Regions from separate parts of the Homo sapiens genome. Here regions 1 and 3 are each linked to region 2. The links are contacts of gene promoters, found by promoter capture Hi-C in human tissues and cell types (Jung and others, 2019). All regions are on one chromosome and are shown on one strand. Each heading gives the region's core, a stretch centred on a gene start or on the middle of the fragment in contact. The rest is flanking DNA. Distances are from core to core; before and after follow the strand shown. Region 1 overlaps CIMIP4 (ciliary microtubule inner protein 4). Region 2 holds the start of GGA1 (golgi associated, gamma adaptin ear containing, ARF binding protein 1). Region 3 holds the start of MAFF (MAF bZIP transcription factor F).

The links. The method cuts DNA at HindIII sites, captures the fragments that hold promoters and counts their contacts. A contact is called where the count stands out against the background at its distance.
Region 1: a contact is called between a fragment that was not itself captured here and the fragment with the promoter of GGA1 in region 2, in 1 of the 25 tissues and cell types used here (pancreas).
Region 3: the fragment with the promoter of MAFF here is called in contact with the fragment with the promoter of GGA1 in region 2 in 1 of the 25 tissues and cell types used here (neural progenitor cells).

The regions. Positions count from the first base shown.
Region 1 is chr22:37,001,638-37,004,372 of GRCh38, forward strand. It overlaps CIMIP4 (ciliary microtubule inner protein 4), which reads right to left. Exons shown (of 6, transcript NM_001163857.2): 2 at 2,329-2,388; 3 at 200-666. The coding sequence starts at 2,350. Among named protein-coding and RNA genes, the nearest start is that of CIMIP4, 4.8 kb to the right of the region's middle. The HindIII fragment of the contact is 5,555 bases long and covers 1-2,735 here.
Region 2 is chr22:37,607,543-37,610,242 of GRCh38, forward strand. GGA1 (golgi associated, gamma adaptin ear containing, ARF binding protein 1) reads left to right here and starts at 1,292. Exons shown (of 17, transcript NM_013365.5): 1 at 1,292-1,361. The coding sequence starts at 1,319. RefSeq lists enhancers at 672-751, 902-1,071, 1,676-2,297, 2,012-2,121 and a silencer at 1,232-1,681. The HindIII fragment of the contact is 29,756 bases long and covers 1-2,700 here.
Region 3 is chr22:38,200,585-38,203,284 of GRCh38, forward strand. MAFF (MAF bZIP transcription factor F) reads left to right here and starts at 1,410. Exons shown (of 3, transcript NM_012323.4): 1 at 1,410-1,628. RefSeq lists silencers at 1,237-1,566, 1,627-2,066. The HindIII fragment of the contact is 8,533 bases long and covers 1-2,700 here.

The DNA.
Region 1 (2,735 bases), core at 64-2,563, 610 kb before region 2:
TCCTCATGGGTTGCTGGGAAGATGTAACAACTTGTTATATGTGAAGTTTAAACAGTGCACAGTGTTTGGCACACAGCAGATGCTCAGGAGATACTGCTTTCTAGTGGTATTATTATAGGGACTCTGTACTCAAGAGTGAGTTTATCTTATGTCCTCATTATAAGACTCTGCATCACCCTCCTGGCCCCTGCTATGACACCTGCTCCTCGGAGACCAGCTGGTCCACCACATTGCTCCCAAACTTGTGGCGAATGTTGTTAGGAATGATGCTGCCCTTCTGGTTCGTGGGCGTGCTCCTCTGGTCCTGAGCCCCCAAGCTGGGACCGTCATCCGTCCCCTGGCATGGCTGAGCCCCCTCTCCCGAGGTGGCCCTGTTCTCTCTCGAGGAGGATCGAGAGCCCGCATTCTTCAGGGACCTGGACTGTGGGTCCATGCCCAGAGAATCCCTGCTGGCAGCAGTCGGGGGTGGAGGGGGAATCTCCTTCAAGTGGCACTGCCCTAGGGAGCTGCCTTGAGCGCTGGCTCCCAGGGGCAGGGGCTGTGGGGATGACAGACCCTGGTTCTTGAACTTGGAGGTGTCCAAGGAACTGTAGGCCGCTTTCCAGGGGTCCAAGTCCTGTTGGCCCTCCTTGTCATTCAGATGGGCCCTGGTGAAAGTGGTTGTACCTGAGCAGGACAAAGAGAAACAGAGGGGGAGGGAGAGAGACACGCAGACAAGGGCAGAAAGTAGAGGGTGGGGAGGGGGCAGAGATGGGGGTGAGGAGGGGAAACGGACAGACAAAGAGCCCCAGAGCTCCACAGCCAGAGAAGGGGAGAGGGACGGAGAGGAAGCGCAGGAACCAGAGGCATGGGTGGGAAATTAGGAGACACAATGGGAGAAGAGAGGCCAGCCTGCGTGCCTCCCACGGGCAGGGTTAGTCCACATTGCCTGGGGCAACAAGGGCTGCCGCCTAAGCCTGTCCCGCCTTGAGGCCTAGCTGTGTGACCGCAAGCAAGGGACTTGGCCTGTCTGTGCTTTCATGTCCCTGGCTCCATTTGGATAGTTCCCTTCCCCACTTTTCCATCTTGAAACCTCCCCCTCACTCTCCGCAGTGAGAATCTGGCAGCAGCGGCACTGGCAGAGGCGTTCCTGGGGCTAAGCCACATGCCTGGGAAGTACTGGAGTTGGATGGGACTTCCAGACTTTGCTTCCAATGCAAGACTGCTCCCCAATACCTACCTCCTCCCTTCGCCAGGGCTGAGAAGTGGCACCATCCCAGCCACCTCCCAGGCTCTCTCCTCCCCGCCTCTCCCTGTCTCCCACGTCCCTGCCCACAGCCTCCGCTTCTCTAGGTCTCTTGCTCTCAGCCTTCAGTGTCTCCTCACAGCCTGGCCTCATCCTCCACCCCAGATTACAGCTGTAAATATGTTTGGTGGTCTTCCCTCCAAAACTTCAAGTCCTCTTAAAAGATACATAAGGGCTGGGCATCTTGGCCGTCAGGCCTCTGAGCCCAAGCTAAACCATCATATCCCCTGGATGATAAACCTCCGCAGAGTTTATCTAAATGTGGCCATGTATGAGGATTCCCTAGGCTCTCATTAAAAATACAGATGCCTGGGACCCTCTCAGAGCTGCTGCATCAGAAAGGCCCTGAATCTGAGTGTTTAACAAGCCCCTGGGCATTCAGGTCATTGGAGGAAGATTTTAGCAGGATCGCTGCCCCAACTCACTGGACTCTCTTCTCCCCATCCCACCTGCCAGCCCCAGCCAACCTGCACTCACCCCTGGGGACCATTCTCAGAGCGGGCCTGACTCAGTCACGCCTGCATCAAAATCTTTCCTCTTGTCCTCAGGGCAGAGTGCCTGCTCTCGGGACTCCACAAAAGTGCCAGCCGTCTCTCCCTCCCAAGCCTTTGCCTGAGCTATTTCTCCTGCCTGGAACACTCCCCTCCACTCCTTGGGCTACACTACCCCTGCTCTTGGCTCACGTGTAACCCCATATATACCTCCCATCCATTGAGGCCAGGCCCCTCACCATGTTCCCCCACAGCCCTGCCCTTCTGGTACACACAAGACTCAGAGCACCTGAGTCACCCCCTCAGGATGGAGACCATATCGGGGTGATAATCCCTGCACATGGCAGGATGGGAGGGCTCAGTAATTCCGTTCCCTCCTTTTTCCTTCTGTCTTCCAACAGAATGCCCCCCTAGGAAGCCTGGGCCGATGGTGGGTCTGGAGGCCAACACAAGACGGAGCGGGAGGAGAAAGGGCCGGTGCCCTGCTGCCCCAGGGAGTCCCTCCAGAAGCCTGGATGTGCATTCAGCACATCCCTGGTCTGCCTGTCCTACCTGCTCCGTGGCCCAGCTCCATAGCCTCTTGCTGTGGGACAGGCAATTCCAAGCTTAGTCCTGTAAACAAAGCACCACGTTTCATCGTCTCAGATAACACACAGAGTTTCTGTGAACAAGGATGAGCTGGGAGCTGAACAGGAAGGCCTGTGGCTGTCTGCCCGCCCCTGATCAGAGGTTCCTAAGCTGCCCCTGGTGCCCTCTGGCACTGCCCAGACCCACGGAGCCTCTGCCCCATTCACTCATCACCCCTGGCACAGGGGCTGCCTCCTGGACTTCTGCAGCCTCTGCCCTCTCTGAAAAGCCCTGGCCACCCCCACCCCACCCCACCAGTCCTCAAAGACCTATCTCAAGCAGCCTTGGAACCCTGGGCTCATTTTACTCCTTCATAATTTTTCCTTTCATCT
Region 2 (2,700 bases), core at 42-2,541:
CCTAATTCCAAGATATCTCCTGCAAATAGATATCTATTTGCAGATATCTGGGAGCCGTATTGAAATACTTCCAACTCCCTGGACTCATCCTACTTTTTTTTTTTTTTTTTTTTTTGAGACTGAGTCTCGCTATGCCGCCCAGGCTGGAGTGCAGTGACGCAATCTCGGCTCACTGCAACCTTCACCTCCCGGGTTCAAGCGATTCTTCTGCCTCAGCCTTCTAAGTAGCTGGCACTAAAGGCGCGCCCAGATAATTTTTTTTTTTTTTTTTTTTTAGTAGAGACGGGGTTTCACCGTGTTAGGATGGTTTCGATCTCCTGACCTCGTGATCCGCCCTCCTCGGCCTTCATCCTACTTTTTCTCCCTGAATATCTTTTCGCACCAGCTCTACGTGGAGAAATCCGACTGTCTTTGAGCGAAGTACAGTATCACTTTCTCTTGAAACCTCCCCTGACACGACCCCTCCCCTGACACGACCCCTCCCCTGACAACACCCCCACCCACCCCACCCCAGTTTGGGGGAGGAGCCCCCTCCTTTGTTCCCACTACCCCGTGGGCTTCCCCTATCACACTGTAATAAATATCTGGCCTTGTCTATCTCCTTCTGTGCCCATCACAGAGCAAAGCAAATACAAAGAGTTCATTAAACGTTGGCTGGATGAATGGAGGAGACGGCACAGGGTTCAAGCTCTGCTACTTGTGCGGCCTCAGGCCGACTAATTATCTGGTGGGTTTGTTGTAAGGAGTCAGAACTAAATGGATTAATTACAAATAGTGCTTAGGACAATGCCCAGAATACTGTAAGCACTCAAGAAACTGATTTATTTTCGTCATTTTCACAGCGGCCAAGGTACATGAGGATGTAGCTTATCGCCCTTTTAAGGGACTCTCCCACGTTCGACTCTAAGCGGAAGTACCCGCTCAGGGCTCCGGAAGTGGCCTCAGAGCCCCTCAGCAACATGCCCGCAGAGAATTCTTCCGGAGGCGGTCACAGACATCTCCGTGACGCAGAACGAGTTAGAGCGTCCCTTGGGGTTTCCATGGTGCTGCCCTTAGCCTGCAGTATCTCCACTTCCTCTCCCGCCTGAGCGCCGGGAACGGAAAAGCAGGCGGCCGGTCCCAGCTGCGACGTAGACGCCGCGTGGGGGTGGGGTTGGGCGAGTAGGTGACGCTCTAGGCGAGCTCGTTGGCCTCTCTATGGTGCCGAGCGCGCCCGTTCGGACGTTGCCCCTTTAATCGGCAGAGGGCGGTGCCCAGGAGGTCCCGCGAGAGCTGCGGGGGGCGGGGGGGCGGTGCCGAGGCTGGGGGCCGGTGGCGGATGGAGCCCGCGATGGAGCCGGAGACTCTGGAGGCGCGAATCAGTGAGTGTCCGGGAGGGGCGCGGGCCGGACCGGAACCGGAACCGGGGGCACGAGGCGGGCCCCTTCCCGGCGGGGGCGGGGTACGGGTCGCCCCCTCCTCACGCCCCGCCCCCGGCCCGGGAGGGGCGGTGTCCTCAGTCGGCCCCTCAGACCCTGGAGCGATGGAGGACCCCGGCCCCGGCGCGGTCCAGCGGTGGGAGCGGGCGCCGCCCACCTGTCGGATCCCTGGGCCATGACCCCTGGGACGGCGAGTGAGCTGCGCCGGGAACCCCCGGGACGGAGAGAGCAGCCTCCAACCCCCAAGGCTCACATTGCTTCACGGAGTAGCGGCCCGGGGAAGGAGCACGCGAGCGGTTCCCCGGGGTTGCATCTCACACCCGGGAGGGAGGGACCCTACTATTTTCAGGCCCCGAATCCTCCACTCTCTGGCCCTGCATGGCGTTCCTGGAGCCCGCAAGTAGTCACATTTGCTCATTACCCCGTCCTGGAAGGGAGGACCCACTGCCCCATTTGATTCCTCCCGCCGCTCCTAGTCTCTAGCCACATAGTGAGAAACCCCCGCACCCTACAGGCTTGGGAGAGTCTTAGACTCCAGAAGTATTAATAATTCCAAGCTCCCTGTCACTCCCTTCAGCCTAACCCCTCAGTCTCCAAGATGCCTTTCCCAGCTCTTGCTGAACTTCCTTCAAAGGCTTCTACACCCCTTTTTTTCTTGTTTCTCCTCAGACGTAGCTTCCTATTGCTTAGGCTTCCTAGCCCGCAAACCCTCCACCTGAGCTCCTTAACCCACAGCCCTGATGATCCCCTGCTCTCACAGCCCCGCTCCTGGACTCTGCCTCTGAAAGCCGTGGCTGGCTTCTCCCTGGTCTAGTGAGGGTTCTCTCCCAAGGCTTTAACTGCTGTTGGGACCCCGTCGTTGCCAGGGCCTCAGGGAACCCTCTTGGACCCGGGCACACCGGCAACTGTCTAGCGTGGTTTGGGGTCATGGCCGGCCCCTTTTAAGCCAGGCTTGAGCAGAGTTGAACCATGAGGTTGGCCCCAGAACCAAACCTCTAGGGATGTTTCAGAGTCATCCTAGCCACCAGAGGGGCAGGGGGTGGAAAAGGGGCACTCAGCAGCCCTTGACCGTTGTGAACGCCGGAAGTGTCCGCCTGGGTCTCAGCAGCAACTGGGCTGGGGGGATGGGTGGGCCCCTGGCTAACTGATCTCAGACACAGGTCTTGAGCTGTGGGTCATACAAAACATTCTCAGGTTTAGAAACAGTGGGGGTTTTCTGAGAGTCCAGAGAGTCTAAAACCAGGCAGAAGTTAGAGATACCTGGGTTTGGCTGGGCCCTGAC
Region 3 (2,700 bases), core at 160-2,659, 590 kb after region 2:
TTGGGGAAGACAGACAATAACCAGCACTCACATACATAAATGATGAAACACCCTACAGAAGTATTAAGATAATATAAGAACAAATTTCAAGGCTGGGTGCGGTGGCTTGCGCCTGTAATCCCATTACTTTGGGAGGCCAGCGTGGGTGGATTGCCTGAGTCCAGGAGTTTGAGACCAGTTTGGGCAACATGGCAAAACCCTGTCTCTACAAAAAAAAAAAAAAAAAAAAAAAAAAAAAAATACAAAAAATGAACCTAGCATGGTGGTGTGTGCTTATGGTCCCAGCTACTTGGGAGGCTAAGGTGGGAGAATGGCTGGAGTCCAGGAGAAGGAGGTTGCAGTGAGCCGAGATTGTGCCACTGCACTCCAGCCTGGGTGACAGAGTGAGACCCTGTCTCGAAAAAAAAAAAAAAATTCAGAGGTGAAGACTGCTTTAACCAGGGTGGTCAGGAAATGTCTCTCTGAGGCAGTGACATCCGGGCTGACGTGAAAGATGAGAAAGAGTCAGGCAAGTGAACAGAAGACCAGACAGCCAGTGCCAAGGGCCTGTCGCAGGAATGAGCTTGGTATGTTTGGGGGACAGAAAGAAGGGCACTGTGGCCGAAGAGCAGTGGATGAGGAGAGAGTGGCCAAAGAAGGTGTGTAAACAACCTGAGCTTTGTTTTGAGAAGAACATTGGCTGGTATAGAAAGAAAGACTTTGGAGGCAAAGTAGGGAGCCTCGGAGGCTGCTGCCATTGTCCGGGTAAGCTGATGGTGCCGAGACCAGGTGCCATGACTGGAGGTGGTGAGAAATGGTCCTATGCAGGAGACCTGGAGACACCGCTAGCTTGAGTCCTGAGGTGGGGAGGAAGGGAGAGGGAGGGATGGAGCCAGGCTCCAAGGTTTTGGCTTGAGCAGCTGAGATGGGGTGGCAAGGGAGCAGAGGTAGGGCTGACGATCAGGAGCGGGTTTTTGGGCCGAGTCCTCTGCAGTGCCCATCTGACACCCACTGGATGCGCAGAGTGGGCAGCTGGCTATGAGTCTGGAACTCAGAGAAGCTGTTCGCTCCGGAAATACAAACCTGGGGCTCATAGCCATATAAATGTCATTTAAAGCCACGGGACTGGATGAGATCATTAAGGCAGAAGGTCTAGGTCGAAAGAAGAGGGCCAGGACCACTACCTGTAAAATGAGCCAATGACACCTACACCCACGGGGCTCTCGCGAGGTGTCACGTGAACGCACCCAGCGAGCCCTGGAACCAGGCAGAGAATCGCGGCAGCCCCGGGGGCGGGGCTTCCAGGGGGCGGGGTCATACGGGGGCGGGGCCGAGGGACCAAGCGGCCGCTCCTGGCCGGAGGGCGGCCGGGTCGGTGACGTCACCGCATGACTGGGTTTTTATGAATGAAAGGAATCCTGTGAGTGAGTAATTCCGGGAAGCTCGCCTTACAACTCCGCGCGGCCTCGGCCCCCTGCGCCGCCCGCCCCACAACAAAACTCAGCGCAGCGCTCCCGGGCGCCCGGTTCAGAGCGACCTGCGGCTCAGAGCGGAGGGGAGACTGACCGGAGCGCGGATCGGGACAGCGGCCGGGACAGCGGCGAGACGCGCGTGTGTGAGCGCGCCGGACCAAGCGGGCCCAGAAGCGGGTGAGGAACGCGGGACCAGGAGGACGGTGCGCGGGACCCCAAGGCGGCAGGGTTTCTGCGTCCCGGGATGCGCCTGGGGTGGGCGCCCGGGCCCGATCCGTCGGGGCTCCCGGAGCTCCATCGCCCGGACGGCTCGGGGCGGGGAGAAGGGAGCGGCCGTCCCGGGGACGCCGAGGACGGGGCCGAGGCCAGCTCGGGGGAGTGGGGGTGGAGACGGGGCCCCTTCCCGGGGCGCGGGCGGGTAGGCGGCGGCGCCGGGAGGAAGGGGCAGCGCAGGCCGGCGATCTCCGCGTCCGCCCGGCGGGGGCGGGGGCGCTGTGCTCCTACGTGACTCGGTGGGAACAGGCCCTGGCCCGGCGCCCGCGGGCGGTGCGTGCGCGGTTTGTTTACGTCCGAGGGCGGGCGTGTGTTCCCTGGCGGGCGGCCTGGGTATCCTGCCCGGTGCGTGCGTGCGCTGTGTACCTCGGGGGCGTGTGTGCGTGTGTTGTGCTTGTGTGTGCGTGTCCGCGCGCGCGCTCCCTGGGGCCTGTACACCAGCAGTGTGTACCTCGGAGAGGGCGTGCCCTGGGCCGGCCACCGGAGTAAACGCGGAACAAGGACCCGAGCGAAGGAAGCGGACCCGTGCGTCTTCGCACGGGGTCTGGGAATTCTGGCCCGGGCCGCCCCAGTCCTACTACCCGGGGCTGTCCGTCCCCGGCTCTCCCCGGAGTTTCCCAGGGCCTCCGCCACGTGACCCCAGTGTTTGTCTCCCGCCCAGAGCCCGCGCCCGCAGCCACAGGGTGGGGCAAGGTATCAAAGACCCCACCCAGCTGAGCTAGGAGTGAGGGATGTGAGCCACCCCCGCTTGGCACCCCGGTGGATCTGGTAACAAAGTGAGTTGGAGCCCAGGTTCTTGTCCCCAGATTTTGGGGCTTCCTGGGGAGGGAAGAACCAAGGGACTCTCGTTCGTCCCCAGGGTTGCCCATCCCCTCAGTCCCATGAGAACAGGAAGGGCCAGAAAACCTTGACTGCAAGGGTGCGGCGCAGGGAGAGGACCACAGGCTTTTAGCTAGTCCGGGTTCTGGAGGCTGTA